Regions from separate parts of the Homo sapiens genome. Here region 1 is linked to region 2. The links are contacts of gene promoters, found by promoter capture Hi-C in blood cells and fetal thymus (Javierre and others, 2016). All regions are on one chromosome and are shown on one strand. The core of a region is centred on a gene start or on the middle of the fragment in contact, and the rest is flanking DNA. Distances in the headings are between cores, read along the strand shown. Region 1 has its middle 97 kb from the start of TRMT9B. Region 2 holds the start of DLC1 (DLC1 Rho GTPase activating protein).

Region 1 (4,801 bases), core at 1,012-3,511, 470 kb after region 2:
TGTAATCCCAACACTTTGGGAGACCGAGACAGATGGATTGTTCGACTCCAGGGGTTCAAGATCAGCCTGGGCAACATGGTGAAACCTCATCTCTACAAAAAATACAAAAATTAGCCATGTGTGGTGGCGTGCCTGTAGTCCCAGCTACTTGGGAGGCTGAGGTGGGAGGACCACCTGAGCCCAGGGAGACTGAGGCTCCTGTGAGCCATGATTCTGCCACTGCATTCCAGCCAGGGTGACAGAAGGAGACCCTGTCTCAGGAAAAAAAAATCTATCTATCTATCTATCTATCTATCTATCTATCTATCTATCTATCTATATCTGAAAGAAATGGCTGATATTTACTGGTGTGTCTTCGTGCCATAGAACATTGACTCTCTTTTTTTTTTCATATGTAGAAAAGAGGCTTTATTAAGAAAAAAATATGGAACGCTTCATGAATTTGCATGTCATTCTTGCACAGGGGCCATGCTGATCTTCTCTGTATCGTTCCAATTTTAGTGTATGTGCTGCTGAAGCGAGCACAGAACTTGACTCTCATTTTCACCTCAGAACTATTCTGGAAGGCAATAGTAATCAATCTCATTTTTATAGAAGAAGGAAGAGGCTCAGAACAGTTAAGTTGCCCAAGTTTACAGAGCTAGTAAGTGGATAATAGCCCCATAGGTTTTCTCAGCACTTCCCATGAGATCAGGATGCATCTGATGATTATTAGAAATAATTAGGTCCAGAATACTTTCACCTAAAGTATAAGCACAATTGAGGTAAAATATGGCTTTGATTTGTTTGAATATCCCCATAACTGCCTTGGTACGGCTACTTGCCTGGGCCAGTGAAGACAATGGCATTACAGAGGTCCCCAAATTTCCTGCAGAATTCTATAAACCAGCTGGGCCTCTCTTTAAACTTCGTGGTATAAGTCCTCCTCCAAAGGAAAAGGATGGTTGGATTTATTTTTTTTTTCTTTTCCGTCTGTTTTTGTTCTGGCATTCTTTTGTGAGTATGGAACTGATTACTAAATACGGTCAAACAGCTTGAGTCGGGCTTCCTGTGTGAATGTGAACAGTGCTGATTTCCAGCCTTGCATTTGATATGTTATCTGTGGCGGCTGTGCCCGACGTTGAAGTTTCAGATGGTTTCCTTCAATTTCCTGTATTGTTATAATGGTGGCTGTGTGTGTACATGTGCACGTGTGGACAGAGAAAGCAGTGGAGACAGAAGAGAGGATGTTTCTCTGTGTTTACTTGGATTTTGTGAAAGGTTTTTAGTTAGATATTGAGAGGGCCACATGTTTCAGTGGAAAGAGCCCTGTTTAGCAAAAATGAAGGTCCTCTCTTGTCTGCCACTAATTGCCTGCGTGGTTTTTGGCAAATATTTAGGCCTTGGGCCCAATTCTGCTTCCTTATAAGGCCGCTTTCAGCTCTGAAATTTTGTAACTCTGGTTTCTACTCAAAGCTTCACTTTCCAACTCCCCACACTTGGCTGTTCTAAAACGTTTGTTTTTCCTCCTGGTTTTACTTTCCAGGCCTTTTTTGTTCTCCTCCACTTTCCATTACTATCCCATAGCCTTTTGGATTTAAGTTCTTATAGAAAAGTTCTTCCTTTCTCAGCTCTTATTTTTCAGCTTCCGTTGTCTCTGAAAAAAATATTACGAATGGTCGACTTTATCTTGGAAAGAAGATCCAGAATGTGTTGGCTTCCTGTTTTGTTGGTGAGATGTCTAGAGCTTGGAGATTGGAGTGTGGGTCAGGATTCCCTACTAAGCCTTATATGAGATAGCTCAGAGCTGCTGGGCTGGCAATCACTTCTCTATCTCTGCTCTATTTTTATTAAACACAATTAACTTTAAATATGCAGGATAGGCTACGCGCGGTGGCTCACGCATGCAATCCCAGCACTTTGGGAGGCCAAGGCGGGCGGATCACAAGGTCAGGAGTTCGAGACTAGCCTGACCAAAGTAAAACCCCGTCTCTACTAAAAATACAAAATTTAGCCGCGTGTGGTGGCACGCTCCTGTAATCCCAGCCACTCAGGAGGCTGAGGCAGGAGAATCGATTGAACCTGGAGGCAGAGGTTGCAGTGAGTTGAGATCCTGCCAGTGCACTCCAGCCTGGGTGACGGAGTGAGACTCCGTCTCTCTCTCTCTCTCTCTCTCTCTCTCTCTCTCTATATATATATATATATATATATTTATATATATATACAATAAAATATAAATGTATATATGCAGGATAATGGCATATCTAATTCATCTGCTTTTATGGCCCAGTATGAACGTTTAAATGGAACCGGGAAATGAAACTTCTCGTTTTTCATCAGCTTCTAGTCCCACGCTGATGGCGCCCCCAGAGCCTCCACAAGTGGGTCTAGTGCCATCTGGTGGTAGGATGCGCTGATGCTTTGCTGCCTGATGGACAGACAACACCGTGCTTAATGAAGAAAACCTGTTGAGTGAAATACACGCAGAAACTTAAACAACGGACTGGTGACATTTGCAGCAGATGACTTAGTAGTCCCAAAATTCAAATTTGTTATTAAACATGCAAATCTGTGAAAGTTACAGAGTCTTTGGGACCATGCAAAGCTAAGATTGATAGGTGTGTGCACTTTAGGCATGAGGCATGTTCAGTTTGTAACTCTGTAGTGAGATGTTTGTGTTCTTAGTATGGAATCCAGATGTTGTCTGCTGGTAATTTATGCTCCTGTGCAAAACATGGGCAAATTGATTAATTTTTATCAATCTCACTTCATCTTGTTCTCATCTGTAAAAGATCATGTCTAAGGACCCTTAAAACGCTTTAAAAACTTTCAAAGAACCTCAAACATTGCAGTATTCTGATTTCCTCTAGTGACTGTATGTGCTTTATGTCCATGCTTTCTTCCACCCTCCAAGAGTTTAATGTTAACAGGAGGTGTGGAAGAAATAGTAAAAATTGTCATTTATTGGATGCTGCTATGTGTTTTGTATTCTCTTAGGTAGTTTAACATTTTTAAAATTCTGGTTTACAAAACTCTGCAAGATAAGTATCACTGAGCTCATTTTACAGATAAGGGGTGTAAAGCTTATCGCACTCTGCTTTCCATGTTTACAAACGAAAAGATAAACGAGAAACAAGGAAGAAATGTGCTAATTGTCTTTATAATTCAACACAACACCACTTACAGTGCATTTACAGCTCAGTGCAATTTGCCACTTTCCAACAATACAAAATGTCAAGTATCTAAGCCACATCATTGTTCTGTCTTCACACACTGATAAAGCAGCTGCCATACTGCAATTGTAGGAACAGTTTTAAAAATGCATTTTCCAGGGAGCCAGGGGGAAACAAATATTTGCCGAGACCAGAGCTGGTGTTTCACAGATCTCTTTTCTGTGAGCTGAGGAATGAGGAGAGGTGGAGTGACAGGCCGTCGAGTGTAATTACCATGTCCCAGATGCTGATGCAAGGATGGCGAGTGGCAGAGGACTATTGGCAGGTGTCTCGGGCATGGCACCACAGCAGCACTCTGTTTCTGTTGACCGGTTTGTTTGGGTCTTCCTTTTAAAAGTTGGGCATCCTTTCCCAAAGAGTGCTCCGTAAGGTGTTCATACATTTTATATGGAAAATAAAGATTTTGAGTGAAATATTATGAGAAACAAGGGGCTGATTACTGTTAAATGGGTTTCTTTGCTCTAGTATAGGACTTCTTGAAACCTTTCAGGTTTCAATGTGTACTTTTAACATAATTTATAGATTAAATGTATTTTATTATATAAATTAAATACAGGTGATATGGTTTGGCTGTGTCCCCACCTAAATTTCATCTTAAATTGTAGTTCTCATAATCCCCATGTGAATCGGGAGGGACCCGGTGGGAAGTAGTTGAACCATGGGGGTGGTTAACCCCATGCTATTCTCATGATAGTGAGTTCTCATGAGATCTGGTGGTTTTATAAGGGGCTTTCCTGTTCTCTCAGCTTTCATTCTTCTCCTTGCTGCTGCCACGTGAAGAAGGATGTGTTTGCTTCCCCTTCCATCATAATTGTAAGTTTCCTGAGGCCTCCCCAGCCATGCAGAACTGTGAGTCAATTAAACCTTTTTCCTTTATAAATTACCCAGTCTCAGGTATGTCTTTATTAGTAGTGTGGGAATGGACTAATACAACAGGTCAAGGTTAAATAATTCAAATAACCCCAATAGCTGGAGATAAGGCAGAAAATGTAACCCTTCTCCCAGAGCTAGGAATCCTTAGACCTAACTATTTTAGCAGACTTGTGTGTGTGTAAATTTCCAAAAAATATCCTAGTAGCATCACCTCGCTTATGTGGCATAGTGCATTAAACCTGATGAATGTTGAAATAATGCACTGTAGATGTCAAACAGCAAGCCTGGTCCACACTTACATAGGGCAATAACGAAGTCAGTAACAGATTCTCTTTTGAGGAGGGCTTGTGCTCTCTAGGTGGTACACCCCTCCTGCCATCCCACCCTTAGGTCACCCACCTGGCTTCTGGAGGCATTGGGGTTTGTTTCCAATGGTTGAAATAAATGATCAAACCCACACTGACTTGATATCCAGACAGGCTTTACTATATCATAGATATTAGTCATCAAAATTTTAGGGCATAAATTATATGTTTCAGAAGTCTACTGAGAATTCCTAGGCTGCTAAACGCTTGAGAAAATCCTAGACCCGGATGCATTGCATCTTACCATTTTTTGGTTTTGTTTTTTGTTTTTTGAGACAGAGTCTCACTCTGTTGCCCAGGCTGGAGTGCAGTGGCATTATCTCAGCTCACCGCAACCTCTGCCTCCCGGGC
Region 2 (4,567 bases), core at 1,035-3,534:
CTTCTCCAGTGTTTTTCTTAGGGAAATAAACATAAATACACAAATATTTCTGCATATAAATTTCATCCTGCTTTCCAATCTATAAGTTATGTGAAATTGTCTCTATTTTTAAAGAGAAACTATTAGAGTTTAAGAAGTCTTCCCAATTTAATAAAGAAATTAAGTGGAAGTCAAGGAAGGCAGTTTATGGAGAAAAAATTAAAGCACAAAGCTTGGAGCTAGAATATCTGAGTTCCAGTGTGGACCTGGGCACTTTGTATCATTTGACTGTGAGAAAATTGCTTCTCAATACTTTATTTGTAAAATAAAACATATGAATACACGCAAAATTGTTGGAAAGATTAAATAGGCATACTGTCAGTAGAAACACTTTGAATATAAATATAAATACTTTTTAAAGAATTTATGGAAGAACAGACTTCTTTCTTGGCCTATGGTTGAAGATTAAATTAAAGAAACCTAAATGCTCATGTTTTTAGTCAATAAGACTTTGATCTAAACTTTTAAAGCTGCTTCTGACCAAACGTTTTTATTTGACTACTTCTCATCTTCAAACTCATGCACAGTATAAGTCATTCTTGCCATCTAACATGGGTCTAATATGGTTCATGATTTGCATTAACTTTGAGAGATTTTAGCTACCTAATAAGGAAAAAAATAGTAGTTAGAACCTTGTGCATCTTTGAGTTATCACCTACCCAATATTATCAAAAAGTACTACAAGATAGCCCTTGTGATATACAGGGATGGAGAATAACAGTGAACAATGAAAACTACTTACAATTTCAGAGAAGAACAGGATAGATCTTAGGGCCAACAAGTTTAAGATGTCTTTTACCTCTTTATATGTTACTCATTTTATCACATCCAACTGGAATTATTCTTGCACTTCCTATTATTGAAAGCTTCTAGAAATTTGCAAGAAGCAGATAGACCTAATAATTAATCTGATCATCAGTCCCCCCCCAAAAAAATGCTTGAGTCATAAATAGCAGCGAAATCCATTGATTGTAAATAAAGTAGAAGGGAGACATGACTGAGCCATTTCCACCAAGCAAGATAATTAAAGTCAGAGATGCTGTTTCCTGCTTCCCTGGTATAAACAATGAAGCTGCTCTACTGGCCTCTCCACAGCCTGGATGTCCCAAAACCACCTCCCTCTTCTTTCCTTCCACATTCTCTAAAGAGGATTCTGGGTCATAAAGGAAGGAAAATTGGTGTAACTTTTTTCCTGAAACGACTTCAGCTTCCTCTGTGTTTGTATTTGTGATATCTTATTATAAGACGAGCTAACATCTATTATTAATTGATGCACTAATTAAAGCCATACTTGCAGTTTCCATTAGCTTATTCCCTAAATTCTCCAGAGTTGCCTGTCTGGTTTTAATCAAAACCAAATGGTAGTCCAAATTCCCAACCTGGAGCAGCTAGGAGGAAGTCATTCAAGGGAGGCACAAGAAAGCAGAAAAGATAAACAGATGATAGTTCACAAAATTTGTGACGGACGAAGGATGCAGATACCATGAGCGGCTTTAGAGATGTGATTCAGGAACGCTGCCATGCTAGATGGAAGCAGTTGTAAGTGTTTAATGTCAGCAAGACTCTAATACGATCAAGATGGAGCCTGTCTTCTGCTCCAGCACTGGATTTTTGTAACTGGAGGATTCTGACTAGAGGTAATGCGCTGCTGCATTTGCCATAACACGAACTATTTTAATTCTGTGAAGGATTCTTGTGATCAGAGAGATCTGGAAGAAATCGTTCTATTAACTGGATGCTTGGGATTTTACTTACAGATGGTCTCAGGGACAGAATGAAAAGCTGCAGCATTTCCAATTTTAAGTCATGTTCAAAAAAGGTTTTGCCATTTAGAAGAATTATGGTATTAAGGCTAAATTCATCTTGCTCTCTTAAAAGATCTTTTGAAATGAGAGCAAGCACAGGCATTTTGATTAAGCTGTGCATATACATTTAATATAGTGGAAAGGTTGTGGATAGAGAGAAAACTACGTTTTCTTTCTTTCTTTCTTTCTTTTTTCATAAGCAGTGTGGGATAGAAAAAGCTCTAGGACTTTATGACTCTACAGCTAATCACCTCAAGAGCTTTGACAAAACTCACTTGAGTTCTGTGTAAAATCAGAACTCCTAAAACGCCCAGGCGGCTGGGCTCTCCCCTCCTCCCCTCTCTTCGTACAGCCTTTCTAGCATGCACACTCCTCAGAGGCAGGAAATACTTTCCAGGCAATCTGGGCCTGGTTGTGGAGGCCCCTTTTGCAAAACCTCAGTCTGAATTTAGTAGACAGAAGTCACTAGGAATGCCTTGACAGGATCCTGCCTTAGCTAAGGCTCCCTCCAGCTGCAGAGGGTGTTTTTGTTAGACTCACACACTGCGTGAAACTGCTCAGAATAGAGCCATGATCTCAACCACGAAATGGGAACTTAGATTTTGGAGAAACTAACGGGGACGGACTTCTTTCCTAGCCTGAGTGTTGAGCAGTGTCATGCCTTGGCGTTTCAGCTCCTCGTTGTCTAGGTAAGACGCTATGGACTATCTTTATGCTTTGAGGCGGTCTTTGAAGAGGCAGAAAGATTGAGATAAATGTTAGCATCTTGCACGGAGTTGGTGACTTCCTAGGTTTTAGAGCAAAGCCATAAAATCAGAAGTGGAAAATGTTTGATAAGTAGAAAATTCTGAGTCAATTCGTTTTAGCAAACTGTCAGTTCTAAAACAGGCTCCATATAGATTTAACTCTTTTCCTCCATAAAGTAAGATTTTATTTTTATCCCTTTTTACGTTTAACTTATTTATTAATTGAGCTGTCGGATCAGTTTTCCTATTTCTTGGCATAACGTGAAACAAATACATTTTCTCACACATCAGTGTGAGGTGTAAATGAATTCCTCCCCTACCTTCCTTTGCCAACAGGGAGAGTAGAAAGCACCCGAGTGACTTGTGCTTAATAATCAGTCTCCAAAGAGTATTTTGTGTCTCATTTAAAACTACGAAGATTGAATTTCTTATTATTTTACCCAAGCCAGTTTCAATCATATGTCAAGCTTCTCCTGTACAGCTTAAAAGGTTCATTTAAAAAAAAAAAGTAAACACGTGAAATTTCAGGAATTATTTCTGTCCTAAATAGTATTTAATCTGAGTTTTGGAAATTTAAATGTCGGAATCGAATTTAGTTTATATTAATTTTCCTGGATTCACTGCTTGCTCCGGTCACATTTTGTGTAATATTTTGAATAACTGAAGTCAATCTCAATGACACTGACACTCATTATAACTCTTTTAAGGCAGCCAGAAATCACTCCAGTCATATGGAAACTGTTTGTGTCCTTACTTATGTAATCGTAAAATTACATTTCCACCTGACTGTAGTCTCTTCAAGGTAATCTTAAATGTTTAAATGTACAATATATTAGAAAAGAAGTTTAGTAATGACCGAAAAAGTGTGGACTTATAATGCATAAGATACTGTTATATTTCTGAATATTTATAATAAAATTCATCATTTTATAGAAATAAAATGGTACATAAAGGGAAGAAATATTCATGTACATTTTCAAATCTATTAGATGAATACAAAATATACTAAGTGAAAGATGGAGAGCTATTTTGACAGTTGGATCATAAGAAATGAAGTAACTGTTTTCATTATAAGTTTTTATATAGTACAAGGTGACCATCTGCTATATTAGCTATTCTCAAATTTTATGCTAGAATAACTTATATTGATAAATTTTAACTATTCACTGACAATTTGTGTTAAAACTTCTTAAATATGAGAAAAAGAATCTACTTTTTATATATGTGGAAGATAAAATACTGACTTATCTAAATTATGATTTAATTAAAATCTCCAAATGGAATTTCAGAGAAGGAAAGAACATAAGAGATGGTCTCCTCTAACAATGGCTTGAGGTTGTCTACAAGAAGCTGAGAAATGGGATTTAAAAGTGACCTGTCCAAGGTCACACCTCTAGCTAATAGAAGAGAGGACAGCAGAACCACAGTGCCCTGATTCATAATTCAGATACCTTTTTATCCCATCATCCTGCCCTCCCATAATAATTATGCATAATGAAGTATGAACATGTCCAGTAGAAGGGTGCTTTGCAGACAGAAATTTGCAGTTCCTCTAATTTAAAAAAAAAAAAAAAAAAAGGTAAAACTGTCACCAATGTTAATTATGTGGGGAAAAAAATCCTAACTTTAAAAAAAAATCAAATCAGTATGCCTTCAATAAACACTTTACAGTAGTAACTTGCTTTATGACTATTTTATTATATTTGATGTTTATGTCAAGAAAATCAATCCATATGCTAATAATTATATTAATTTTAATCTGATGTTTCTTTAAAAATAGGGCTAGAAAACAGCTTTTCTAATTTATATCCTTGTACTCAAATGATCATAATGAAACTGTCCCAACCAATGACTTTCAGAGGCAATTTTACAGCACCACCCCCAGGCATCCTTTCTTCTATCTAGCCTAAATCATTGTTGCTGTAGCTTATTTCAAGTTCTATGTGGGTCTTTTCACTAAATATATAAAAAGCCTAA

What was found. The method cuts DNA at HindIII sites, captures the fragments that hold promoters and counts their contacts. A CHiCAGO score of 5 or more calls a contact.
Region 1: a fragment that was not itself captured here is called in contact with the fragment with the promoter of DLC1 in region 2 in 6 of 17 cell types (megakaryocytes, endothelial precursors, M1 macrophages and 3 more); the score reaches 10.3 in megakaryocytes.

What each region holds. Positions count from the first base shown.
Region 1 is chr8:13,040,074-13,044,874 of GRCh38, reverse strand. It overlaps the pseudogene RNU6-842P. Among named protein-coding and RNA genes, the nearest start is that of TRMT9B, 97 kb to the right of the region's middle. RefSeq lists a silencer at 3,458-3,666. The HindIII fragment of the contact is 1,607 bases long and covers 1,458-3,064 here.
Region 2 is chr8:13,512,568-13,517,134 of GRCh38, reverse strand. DLC1 (DLC1 Rho GTPase activating protein) reads left to right here and starts at 2,284. Exons shown (of 18, transcript NM_182643.3): 1 at 2,284-2,533. The HindIII fragment of the contact is 2,152 bases long and covers 908-3,059 here.